2 separate regions of the Homo sapiens genome follow, and region 1 is linked to region 2. The links are contacts of gene promoters, found by promoter capture Hi-C in blood cells and fetal thymus (Javierre and others, 2016). All regions are on one chromosome and are shown on one strand. Each heading gives the region's core, a stretch centred on a gene start or on the middle of the fragment in contact. The rest is flanking DNA. Distances are from core to core; before and after follow the strand shown.

Region 1 (6,581 bases), core at 2,971-5,470, 58 kb before region 2:
ATTTGAAACTTATCTATCTTTTCTAGAAGAAAAGAAGAAATTGATCAGGGATTTTGATGAAAAGCAACAGGAAGCAAATGAAACGGTGAGAACAAGGAACAAATTTTGTTTCTTCTACCTGGTGTTGGTCTTTTCCAGAAGTAATGCTATGAGCTGATCACAAATTAACTGTTCCTGTCCATTGATCTTGATTTTGACTATTTCTTACTAAATGAAGCCAGTTGATGGGGATGGTTGTTGAGGGGGTTTGGCAAACAAATGGGTGAAGCCTGAAGATGCTCCTGAAATGTGACTCTTTGGTAATATATTGCTGATGTGAGTAGTAAGGGCATTCTCATACTTTTACCCAAGCAGTCTTTTAAAATCTGTTGTTTTTTTTTTTGTTGTTGTTGTTGTTGTTTGTTTTGAGACAGAGTCTCGCTCTGTTGCCCAAGCTGGAGTGCAGTGGCACAGTCTCGGCTCACTGCAAGCTCCACCTCCCGGGTTCACACCATTCTCCTGCCTCAGCCTCCCAAGTAGCTGGGAATACAGGTGGGCGCCACCACACCTGGCTGTTTTTTTGTATTTTCAGTAGAGATGGGGTTTCACCGTGTTAGCCAGGATGGTCTCGATCTCCTGACCTCATGATCTGCCCGCCTCGGCCTCCCAAAGTACAGGGATTACAAGGCATGAGCCACCGTGCCTGGCCTAAAATCTGTTTTTAAGAGCTGGCCATTAAGATAGGTTACTGGTCAGTGCGGTGGCTCACGCTTGCAATCCCAACACTTTGAGATGCCAAGGTGGGAGGATCACTTGAGGCCAGAAGTTCAAGACCAGCCTGGGCGACATAGGGAGACCCCCCATCTCTACCAAACAAAAAAAAATTACCGAGGTTTGGTGGTGCATGCCTCTGGACCCAGCTACTCAGGAGGCTGAGGTGGGAGATCACTTCAGCCTGGGAGGTCAAGCATGTGGTTAGCCACAGTTGCACCACTGCACTCCAGTCTGGGTGACAGAGTGAGACCTGCCTCAAAAAAAAAAAAAAAAAAAAAAGGTTACTGTTCTTTGTTAAACCTACTGTCACAGAAAATGTAGTTTAGAGGTAATTCTAACCATGTCCCTTTCTGTCTTAAGAGACAACATAGGAGCTGGAGTTGGTACCTCAGGCAAGACATGCATGAGTCTCAGTTGGTACCCAAAGTTTGTCAGAAGTTGGTTCCGTTTACTGAACAGTTTAACAACTGCTTCTCTTCACCTGTGGCTTTTCTTTAAAAAAAAAAAACTTTTTTTTTTTTTTTTTTTTTGCTCTAGCCCTATAGAAGCAAGAGTCCTTTGACTCCATCTCATCATACTCTAGCTTCAGCAAACTCATTAAGATTGGGGCCAAAATTCTGGTCGCTGCTAGTACTCCGCAGAAATAGTTGGCCCTGTATTTGCTACCCGAGAGCAGATGGAGAAAAAATTCTCTTTTGGCCAGCGAACTTCCTTCTTGCTTGTTGAAGATCAGTGTTTCAATTTCCCACTTATCCCAATGAAGTTCTGAGAAGGAAGCACATCTGCATCCTTTTCTCTGTTTTGCATCTGTTTTAAGAAAGACCAGGCCACTAGACTGTGGGAACTATCTTCTTCCTAATGGGAGTACTGGGAGCTTTTCTTAATACCTGTGTACAGCTGGGCATATCCATGATACCTGTTTGTAGCCATTCTCCTGTTTCAGTTAATACCTTGGTAGCATTTTTAAAATCTTCTAGCTGCTACTGATTTGTTTGATGCTCAGATACTTGTTTTCTCCAAACTCAGCAAAAGTAATAATCCTATGCTGCCCATTCCAGGCAGATGAAAATAATTTAGGGCCTCTTGTGGATGTGTCCAGGTGTTACATTTTACTTACCCCAGAAAAATGGAAGTCTGATTCCCCTAAAGCAGACTGCTCTGGGTAGGCCCCTGTTCTCTCTGACATGGAGACAAACTTAATTGATTTTCAGAAAGAGGAGCAGGAGAAGGGAAGAACCCTGATGCCAGACCCCTATCATTTTTAATACAGTAGACTTCAAAGCACTTCTTGATGGCAATGTTCAATCATACCAGGCTAAAAACTTGGTATATTGAAGAGAGCTGAGAGAATTTGAAGATTTTGAATCCTGACTCCTTTTCTGTTTAATTTTTTATATATATATAGAGATGAGGTCTTGCTATGTTGCCCAGGCTGTGCTCAAGTGATCCTCCTGCCTCGGCTTCCCAAAGTGCCAGGATTACAGGTTTGAGCCACTGTGCCTGGCCCGGACTCCTTTTTGTGCGATCTTCAGAGGTTTCTTTAAGTCTTATATATGAAATGGAGCATTTCCTACCTTATTGATTTGTTGTGAGGATTAAATGGAGAATGTATATAAAAGTGTTTAGTAAGCTATAAAGTACTTCTGTTTTTCCATTCATTCATTCAGTTCATATACTCGAATGCCTGCTCTGTGCTTGCTGGGCACTATGCAAGGCATTCAGAATGAGGGGAACATGCCAGACATGGTCCCTGCCTCATGGAGCATATGGTTATTTACTTGGTGTAGTCCAAATAAATAAGTAGTTTGATTAGTCCAAACTAGGCATATTTCCAAATGAGTGAGGGAAGAACCAGGCTATCTGCTCACTACTTTCTGCCTTCCCAGCTGGCAGAGATGGAGGAGGAGCTACGTTATGCACCCCTGTCTTTCCGAAACCCCATGATGTCTAAGCTTCGAAACTACCGGAAGGACCTTGCTAAACTCCATCGGGAGGTGAGAAGCACACCTTTGACAGCCACACCTGGAGGCCGAGGAGACATGAAATATGGCATATATGCTGTAGAGAATGAGCATATGGTAAGTTTTAGCTGTTTTGTTTGTTTTTTTTTTCCTTTAAGGGCCTGTGGTACAAAAATTAACTATATTGTTGGGGTATTTCATGTTATCAGTGTATACTAGACTCTTGTTTCATTTTTTTCACCCTTATCCTCTTTTCTGCATCCAGTTCCTGTTACCCCTTGGTATCTGCTCTATTTAAGGCAGGCCTTTCGAACTATATGCATATTTAGATTTCTTTTTATCCTTAATATAATACAGTCTTATAATAAAAAAAAAACAGTGCTTTGTATGTAGTAGAATGTAAATGTTACCTATTCTTATTATCTGGATTCTGACTCATTGATCTAATTTCTTTTCTCCTTGATCTTTTTTATTCTCTCATATAAATTTTAGAATCACTTTCTCAGGTATGCCTGGAAAATTCAGTTAGGTTTCTAATTTATCAGAATATTGTTACAAAATCAATCCAAGCTTTCCTTTACCTTAATGTCAAGATGGCCCAGCAACTGAGATACAGTAGCCAATGCAGGGCGCTTCTCGAGAAGGAGCTTTTTATCATTTTATTCTGTGGTAATAGAAAGTGAGCAAGACTCCCTCTCTAGCTTTCAGGATTCTGATTTATAAAATTGGACTAATTGAACATCTGTATTCTGAAACCATCTAGAGCAGCTAGATCGTTAAAGGAATAAAACGTCTGAAAGATTAAATGTGCTGCATTTGGTCTGTCTTCCACAAACACAACACAAAGTAGAAATTCTCTGGCAAGTAGCATGGCAGAGAAATGGAAAGGGGCCCACCAGTGCAGACTGAAAGGCTCATACTACAATTTTAAACAAATCCTGTTTCACGATGCATCCTGATTATAGTTTAAGAGATATTCAGGATGATATTGGCTTGACATTGCTGATGCCAAAACTAGATCCCTTGAGAATGAAGTACTTAAAATTTTCAAATGGATGCGCGAGGGATTATCACAGATTAGAAGCTGACAGAAGATCACTTGTAAAGGGAGACTGGAAACAGGCAGGCAGGTGGAGCTGGTTAAAGTGGGAGTTGTAAAAGTGACTTTAGTCATGTTGCCAAAGTTGGGGAGGAAGTCCAAACAATTTTGCTTTAAAATTATGAGTTTCAGAAATTATTATTATTTTTTTTGAGACGGAGTCTCGCTCTGTCACCCAGGCTGGAGTGCAGTGGCGCAATCTCGGCTCACTGCAAGCTCCACCTCCCGGGTTCACTCCATTCTCCTGCCTCAGCCTCCCAAGTAGCTGGGACTACAGGCGCCCACCACCACGCCCGGCTAATTTTTTTTTGTACTTTTAGTAGAGACGGGGTTTCACCGTGTTAGCCAGGATGATCTCCATCTCCTGACCTTGTGATCCACCCGTCTCGGCCTCCCAAAGTGCTGGGATTACAGGCATGACCCACCACGCCTGGCGAGTTTCAGAAATTATTAAAACATAATTTAGGTATCCATACCTTCAGAAAAAGTATTGTTCCAAATCTGTCTGAAGTTCATTTATGTGATCTGATCTTTTCTTAGTCATTTTTTAGCCTACTCAGTTGAAAATCTGCATCTTTTATTTTGAAAACCTTTTTCCTTCTTCCTTTGCGCTAACCTAACTGGTTTTATTTGAACCTCATTCAGTGGTTTCCTCGTCTACTGGTCTGTATGCCATTTATTAAGTGAAAATGCTACAGAGCGCCGGGCACAGTGGCTTACGCCTGTAATCCCAGCACCTTGGGAGGCTGAGGCTGGTGGATCACCTGAGGTCAGGAGTTCGAGACCAGCCTGGCCAACATGGTGAAACCCTGTCTCTACTAAAAATACAAAAATTAGCTGGGCGTGGTGGCGGGTGCCTGTAATCCCAGTTACTTGGGAGGCTGAGGCAGCAGAATTGCTTGTGCCCGGGAGGCAGAGGCTGCAGTGAGCTGAGATCTTGCCACTCCACTCCAGCCCGGGCGACAGAGCGAGACTGTCTCAAAAAAAAAAAAAAAAAGAAAGAAAGAAAATGCTCCTTGCTACTTCTGTTCTGGGAGCCAATCTTTTGGCTCCTTGATGGTCCTACTGCCAGTGGTCACTTGCTCTGTACTAGGCCTCTGTGAGCTGGGTCCCTTTTGATTTTGGGTGTGTGTGTGTGTGTGTGTGTGTGCACGCGCGCGCGTGCTTTGAACAGCTAAGAACTTGGAGCTGCCTCCGTTTCTGTCAGTGGTTGTTAATTCTGGCCTGACAAGGCTACTTTTTTCTTCCTGCTGTCTGTATTTAGGATTACAGGTGGAGTAAAACTTCGGTGGGGATTTAGAAAATTAGGGCAGTTGAGAAATTAGGGCAGGTGGGGAAGCTTGCTCAAGCCCCAGATACTAATTTCCCTGAGACCAAATCACCCCCAGTGTGGCAGGCTCAAGGTTTTTTGTTTGACCTTAGGTGAAGTTCTTTCTGGGGCTCACCAAGAGGGTAACCACATACGTTTTTTCCAGAATGTGGTAGTGTCTCAGACTTCTACATGCTTTCTTTAGAAGCTGAAAAAGAAGAATGTAGTCATCTAGGCAATACCACTCTGAACCTGCCTGATCTCAGAAGCCAAGTGAGTCAGGCCAGGTTAGTACTTGGATGGGAGACCACCTGGAAATACCAGGTGCTGGAGGCTTAAAACGAAGAACAGAATAGCTTATTCATGGTCCGTCAATCCTCAGTACCAGTCTAGTGGGAATCTTCAGTGAATTAACCTTTTTCTAGGGCTGCAGAGTTTAGTTGGTTTGCCCATAGCACTATCGAAGTTACAGGCTATATGCATTATCAGGTAGCTCCCACATCTGGGCTGCCACCTTTCAGAAGTTGATAGTCCAGGAGGCACATGGACCAGTTCAGATTCATTACAAACACAGGGAAAGTGCTCCAGTATTTTTAATCCATCTTTCCTTGCCTCGCGTAAGTGTAAAAGGCAGTGGAGTGGGGGTATTGTGATCCTATTGATTGGATTTCAGGTCCTGCTTTAGTCTGTGACCTTGAAAAGAATCATTAGCTTCTTTGGTTCTGTCTTAAAAGGAATGAAAATTATTGCTCACTATATCCCTTCTAACATGGGGAAGGTGATGAGGAATATGCTGGCAATGAATTTATAATGGAAAAAGTCTAACATTTCTCTTCCATACTTCTTTCAGAATCGGCTACAGTCTCAAAGGGCAATGCTTCTGCAGGGCACTGAAAGCCTGAACCGGGCCACCCAAAGTATTGAACGTTCTCATCGGATTGCCACAGAGACTGACCAGATTGGCTCAGAAATCATAGAAGAGCTGGGGGAACAACGAGACCAGTTAGAACGTACCAAGAGTAGAGTAAGTCTGGGCAGACAGGGAAAGGGGCAAGTATGGGGTAATTAGGGGGCCACTGCACCTGGAAACCGTACTAAGGCCAAAAGCTACAGCAGTTCTGTATTCAGGGAATAGTCTTTTTTAAGTTCTTATGCTTTTCTCAATTTTTATTTATTAATTTTTTTTTTTTTTTTGAGATAGAGTCTCACTGTGTCACCCAGGCTGGAGTGCAGTGGCGTGATCTCCACTTGCTGCAACCTCCGCATCCTGGGTTCAAGCGATTCTCTTGCCTCAGCCTCCTGAGTAGCTGGGATTACAGGCATGCGCCACCATGCCTAGCTAATGTTTGTATTTTTAGTAGAGATGGGGTTTCGCCATGTTGGCCAGGCTGGTCTCGAACTCCTAACTTCAGGTGATCCACCTGCTCCGGCCTCCCAAAGTGCTAGGATTATAGGCGTG
Region 2 (6,202 bases), core at 3,703-6,202:
ATAAATGGAGAGATGCCAGGTTCATGGATTGGAACATGCGGCATAGTTAAGATGTCAATTCTCCCTTAGATTGATTGATAGATTCAGTACAATCCAAGCAAAATTTTTGGTGAAAATACAAAAACCCTATAATAGCCAATACAATTTTGAAGAAAAGGTATAAAGTTGAAAGACTTAACAGTATGAGAAATCAAGACCTACTGTAGAGCTACAGTAATTGAGACAGGTTGCTATTAGCACAAGGGAAGACAAAATAGAACAACAGAACATAATAGAGAGTGTGGAAATAGACCGAGAAATTTGTGGTCACCTATTTACAACAAAGGCACTATCTCAATTAGGGGGGAAGGGTAGTCTTTTCAACACGTGCTGCTGGGAAACAAAATGACCCTTAACCTCTACAAACAAAAATTAGTTCAAAATGGATCATTGGCTTAAATATGAAAGGTAAAATAATTAAGCTTCTAGGGAAAAAAAAGATAGGCAAAGTTTTTTTTGTTGTTGTTGTTTTGTTTGTTTTTTCTCGCTCTGTTACCCAGGCTGGAATGCAGTGGCTTGATCACAGCTTTTTGTAGCCTCCTACAGTAAGCTGGGCTTACTGGGCTCAAGCAACCCTTCTGCCTCAGCCTCCCTAGTACCTAGTAGCTGTGCCACCATGCCCAGCTTTTTGTTTTTTGTTTTTTGTTTGGTAGAGTCAGAGTCTCGCTATGTTGCCCAGCATGTTCTGGAACTCCTGAGCTCAAACGATCTTCCTGGCTCAGCCTCTCAAAGTGCTGGGATTATAGGCATGAGCCACCATGCCCGCAAGACAGGCAAAGCTTCCTAAACAGGACAAAATATTATACAACACTAGCCATAAAAGACAAGATTGATAAATTGGACTTTATGAAAATTAAAACCTCTGTTCATCAAAAGACACCATTAGAGTATGGAAAAGTAAGTCACAGACTGTTTTACTGCTTGGAGGATATACCTCAATTAAAACATTTCCTTAAATGGACAGATGAGGAGACTTCCATTTCTGAAAGATGGAACAGACATTCTTTGCCTATCCATCCCAGTAAGAAAGCTAAAACCTTTGCGCCTGTAATCCCAGCTACTTGGGAGGCTGAGGCACAAGAATCGCTTGAACCCAGGAGGTGGAAGTTGCAGTGAGTAGAGATTGTGCTACTGCACTCTTGCCTAGGCGACAGAGCAAGACTGTCTCAAAAAAAAAACAAAAACAAAAAACAAGGGCAGGGCTGGGAGCGGTGGCTCACGCCTATAATCCCAGCACTTTGAGAGGTTGAGGCGGGCAGATCACCTGAGGTCAGGAGTTTGAGACCAGCCTGACCAACATGGAGAAACCCCATCTCTACTAAAAATACAAAATTAGCTGGGCATGGTGGCGCATGCCTGTAATCCCAGCTACTTGGGAGGCTGACCTCAGCAGGAGAATCGCTTGAACCTGGAATGCGGAGGTTGTGGTGAGCCAAGATTGTGCCATTGCACTCCAGCCTGGGTAACAAGAGCAAAACTCCGTCTCAAACAAACAAACAACCCACAAAGCAGTAATAAGGATTTTAGTGACTGGGTGCAGTGGCTCATGCCTGCAATCCCAGCACTTTAGGAGGCCAAGGCAACAGGAACGCTTCAACCCAGGCATTCAAGGTCACAATGAGTTATGATTATACCACTGCACTGCAGCCTGAGTAACAGAGCAACACCCTCTCTCTAAAAAGAAAAAGGATTTTAGAGATCTTAGACTACCACAGTATTTATTCCTAATAATTGAGTATTTTTAAAAAATTAAGTAAAGTACATTTGGCCTTTTTCTTTCTATAACTCTATAATTGTGAAACTTCTTAGCCTGCTGGGCATGGTGACTCATGCCTGTAATCCCAACTCTTTGGGAGGCTGAGGCCGAAGGATCACCCGAGCCTAGGAGTTTGAAAATAGCCTGGGAAACATAGTGAGATGCCATTTCTACAAAATATGCAAAAATTAGCCTGATGTGGTAGAGTGTGCCTGTAGCCCTAGATACTTGAGGGGCTGAGGTGGGAGGATCTCTTTAGCCCAGGAAGTTGAGACTGCAGTGAGCCATGACCGTACCACTGCTGCACTCCGCTTTCGGTGACAGAGCAAGACCTTGCCTCAAACAAAACAAAACAAACCAGAAAGAAAGAAAAAGAAAAGAAACTTCTTAGCCTGTACAGGTACCTTTTGTATTGTAGACCCTCTGGAAGTTTGGCGAAATGAATGGACCCTTTATTATAATAATGCTTTAAAATGTATAAATACATAGGACTTCTAAGAAAATCAACTAAATTAAAATATGGTTATCAAAATATTTTAAAAATGTGTTACAGTGATATGTTTCTCTTTATTGACACATTAAATAATAATAGCTAGTGATGGGTTTAATAATTACTGCAATTTTGAAGTAGCAATGACTAGAAATGACATTTTGAAACAATTATTGTGAAAAGAAAATATCTGTGATTTCTGTCAGTGACAAAAATCACAAGCTCTACTAATACTAGTTTGTTGCCCATATTCATAATCAAAAGAAATGTTAAATTTTAATTAGAAGTTAATGAAACTAAAAATGAAACACTGATTCTATCCGTGGAGCCCAAGTTAAGAACTCCAGGACTACAGGCTTCCCCAAAACATTAACAGTACTTATCTCTGAGTGATGGAAATATGGGTGGTTTACATTTTTTTCTTTTCTGTATTTTTCAAATTTTCCACAATAAGCAAATATCACTTTTATAATTATAAAACACATGATATATGCAATAGTAAAAGGGGTGATATGGTTCGGCTCTCTGTGCCTACCCAAATCTCATGTCAAATTGTAATCTCCACTTGTTAGGGGAGGGACCCAGTGGGAGGTGATTGGATCATGGGGACGGATTTCCCCCATGCTGGTCTCGTGATGCTGAGTGAGTTCTCTCACGAGATCTGACGGTTTAAAAATGTGGCACTTCCCCACTCCCCTCCTGCTGCCATGTAAGACATGCCTGGCTTCCCCTTTGCCTTCCACCATTATTGTAAGTTTCCTGAGGCCTTGCCAGCCATGTGGAACTGTGAGTCAATAAACCTCTTTTCTTTATAAATTACCGAGTCTCAGGTAGTTCTTTATAGCAGTGTGAAAACGGACTAATAAAAGGAGTGTATTAATTGTCAGATTCGGGGCACAGAAATAAAACTAGAAAAATAAAGAAGTGCTTGAAGAAATCCTTTAGGAAAAAAGAAAGGGAAATAAAATTCTGAATGAAGATGAAGAAACGGAACCTTTCATCAGAGAGACTTAAAGCTGGTGAGACCTTTATGCCATGGATCTTTTTTTTTTTTTAAATGAATATAGACACAGTCTTGCTCTGTTGCCCAGGCTGGTCTTGAACTCCTAAGTTCAAGTGATTCTCCTGCCTCAGCCACCCGAACAGCTGGGATTACAGGCATGCTCCACCATGCCCAGGTAATTTTTTTGTATTTTTAGTAGAGATGGTTTCACCATGTTGGCCAGGCTGATCTTGAACTCCTGACCCAAGTGATCTGCCCTCCTCAGCCTCCCAAAGTGCTGAGATTACAGGCATGTGCCACCATGCCCAGCCCATCACAAGTGTTTTGACAGTCCACATAGCCACTCCTGGGCCACATCAGAAGTAAAAATGGAACTCATAGGCCACTATTACTCATGAGTTTAGTAATTTTATTATCCATTTCTTCTGCATCTCCCGCTCCTGCTTAATTCCCAGCCAGGTCTTGCCTGTCTACCACGGTCCAAGCAGTCATTTGGGAGACAGAACTCCCAGGCAGTGAAATCCAAACTCCTTACCAGACCCTACAAGACCCTCTTGGATCTGACCCCTACCTGCCTCCCCAGCTTCCAACTGTTTTCCCCACACACCAACCTTTCTCGCCTTTTGATTATTTCATTAAGCCAAGCTTGTTCCAACTTCGAGGGGTTTGCCTTTCCTGGTCTTTCTTTCTGGCAAATTCCTCCTCCAGAGCTCCTTCAGTCCTGTCTGGCTCGTCACCCTTGTAACTCAGTGTCCTCTTACTTAGAGACTTCGCCTGACTGCCCTATGTAAAGTCCTCAGTCCATCCCTGCCAGTCAGCATAGTATTGCCAACGATACTCTCTTATTTCCATATTGTCTCCTACTAGAAAGGAAGCTGCCCGAGGGCAGAGACTGTCATCAACATCGTTCACTGCTGCATCCTCAAGCACCTCAAACTACCCGGCACAGGAAAAGAGTAAGTGAAATGAATACCCGTGGGCTCTCCTTGCGGCTCACTCTGGCTTAGAGAAATCGGCTTGCCAAGCAAAAGCATGATTAAAACTGTGGGTTTGGGCTGGGTGCGGTGGCTCACGCCTGTAATCCCAGCACTTCGGGAGGCCGAGGCGGGCGAATCACCTGAGGTCAGGAGTTTGAGACCAACCTGGCCAACATGGTGAAACCTGTCTCTACTAAAAATACAAAAATCAGCAGGGCGTGGTGGCGCGCGCCTGTAATCCCAGCTACTCAGGAGGCTTAGGCAGGAGAATCGCTTGAACCCGGGGGAAGCAGGTTGCAGTGAGCCGACGTCGCGCCATTCCGTCTCAAAACAAAAACAAACTGTGGGTTTGTTTTGAGACAGGGTCTTGCTCTCTCGCACAGGCTAGAGAGCAGGGGCATGATCTCCGCTCACTGCAACCTCGACCTCCCAGGCTCAAGCGATCCTCCCGCCTTGGCCTCCCAGTGCTGGACTACAGGCCTGAGTCAACGCGCCCGGTCTAAAAACGATTTTAATCTTTCCACTTAACTATTGCCCCGACGAGGTTTTTTCGAAGACAGTCAAGGCCGGCCCGGAAGAACGCACAACCATCAGCCCCCAGCAGAGCTCTCGGCGCGCAACTGAGGCTGCGCAGGCTTAGGGCGGGGCGTGGTGACGCGGCTGCCGGAAGCGGGTCTGGAGCGGGCGAGACGGCCAGGGCCGGCGAGCGCAGTGCAGCGCCGCGCGGTGCGGGCGGCCGAGTGGGGGCGTCATGGAGGATGAGCGGAGCTTTTCGGATATCTGCGGCGGCCGCCTGGCGCTGCAGCGCCGCTACTACTCCCCGTCCTGCCGGGAATTCTGCCTCAGCTGCCCTCGGCTCTCGCTGCGTTCGCTCACCGCTGTCACCTGCACGGTGTGGCTGGCGGCCTACGGACTCTTCACCCTCTGCGAGGTAATGGCAAGTCGGCCCCTCCCCGCGCTCGAAGGAGGGGGTTCGGCTTTGGGAGGGTCTTTGGGGTCTTTGGTCGAGCCCGGACCTCTGGTCGGCCCCTCCTACAGTGATAGGACAGGAGGGCGGGAACTCACGGGTTCTGGGGACGATATTCCGCTGCTGGACAGCTCTTTAAATGACGTTTAGTGAAATGTGTGCTCCTGGATAGTACATTCCCCTTCCGTGGCTGTGCTCTGCTCCGTGGGTTCACTCAGCATACATCTAGTTCTTGCGCGACGGCCTAAAACTTTAACTGCCATGTGTTCTATGTAGTATAGGCGCGCAGTAATTTAATTCCAAGAGTTCAAGGAACTACTAAGTGGGTCTTCCTCGTCCATCCCTTCTGCTCCTCAAAGTAGTACTGCTAACAATACTTTACGTAGACTTCCACAAACTGTCTTTGCCTCCACAAGTGTGTGTGTTTATCTGTGTGTATAGATAGAGTGTTATAGTTCTTCCTAATCTCTGTTTTTCAAGGGAGTTTTTTAACCCTCCCTCCTCCCAAACCCTTCCCCAATTTCAAGTACTTTCTAAAGGTTTATGAAATTTTGGACGTGTGTGATAGCTGTGCTCAATTTCCAGATTCATTCCTGTTTTCTCTGAGCCTCAATTTTCTACATCTCTAAAATAGAATTCATGCCTGCCATACCAGCTTCATGATATTGTGAGGGTTAAATGCAGTAACTTTGTGACAGCTCTCAAATAAAAAGAATTATCCTAATTTTCAGGATAAGTTCTAGTTTCATATGTAGTGCCTGAATTGAATGTATTATCCCAGAAGTGATCTAATCAGAGCTAAGTACAGCAGGGCTATTTATTTTTGTAACTTGGATATTGTTTCCATTACTGCATCCATTCGCTTTTTTGCTGTCAAAGCGTGTTTCAGAGCATGGTAATTTAGCATAGAAATATGCAGAATTAAGACTGCCCTAATTGCAGGAAACTATCTAACTATCTAAACCGTATG

What was found. The method cuts DNA at HindIII sites, captures the fragments that hold promoters and counts their contacts. A CHiCAGO score of 5 or more calls a contact.
Region 1: a contact is called between a fragment that was not itself captured here and the fragment with the promoter of PIGH in region 2, in 3 of 17 cell types (megakaryocytes, naive CD4 T cells and total B cells). The highest score is 5.4, in megakaryocytes.

What each region holds. Positions count from the first base shown.
Region 1 is chr14:67,655,981-67,662,561 of GRCh38, reverse strand. VTI1B (vesicle transport through interaction with t-SNAREs 1B) reads left to right here. Exons shown (of 6, transcript NM_006370.3): 2 at 27-85; 3 at 2,640-2,831; 4 at 5,973-6,146. It also overlaps a transcript of GPHN not described here and the pseudogene RNA5SP386. Among named protein-coding and RNA genes, the nearest start is that of VTI1B, 15 kb to the left of the region's middle. The HindIII fragment of the contact is 1,868 bases long and covers 3,287-5,154 here.
Region 2 is chr14:67,599,018-67,605,219 of GRCh38, reverse strand. It overlaps PIGH (phosphatidylinositol glycan anchor biosynthesis class H), which reads left to right and starts at 4,952. Exons shown (of 4, transcript NM_004569.5): 1 at 4,952-5,196. The coding sequence starts at 5,017. It also overlaps a transcript of GPHN not described here. RefSeq lists an enhancer at 4,955-5,274. The HindIII fragment of the contact is 5,160 bases long and covers 3,936-6,202 here.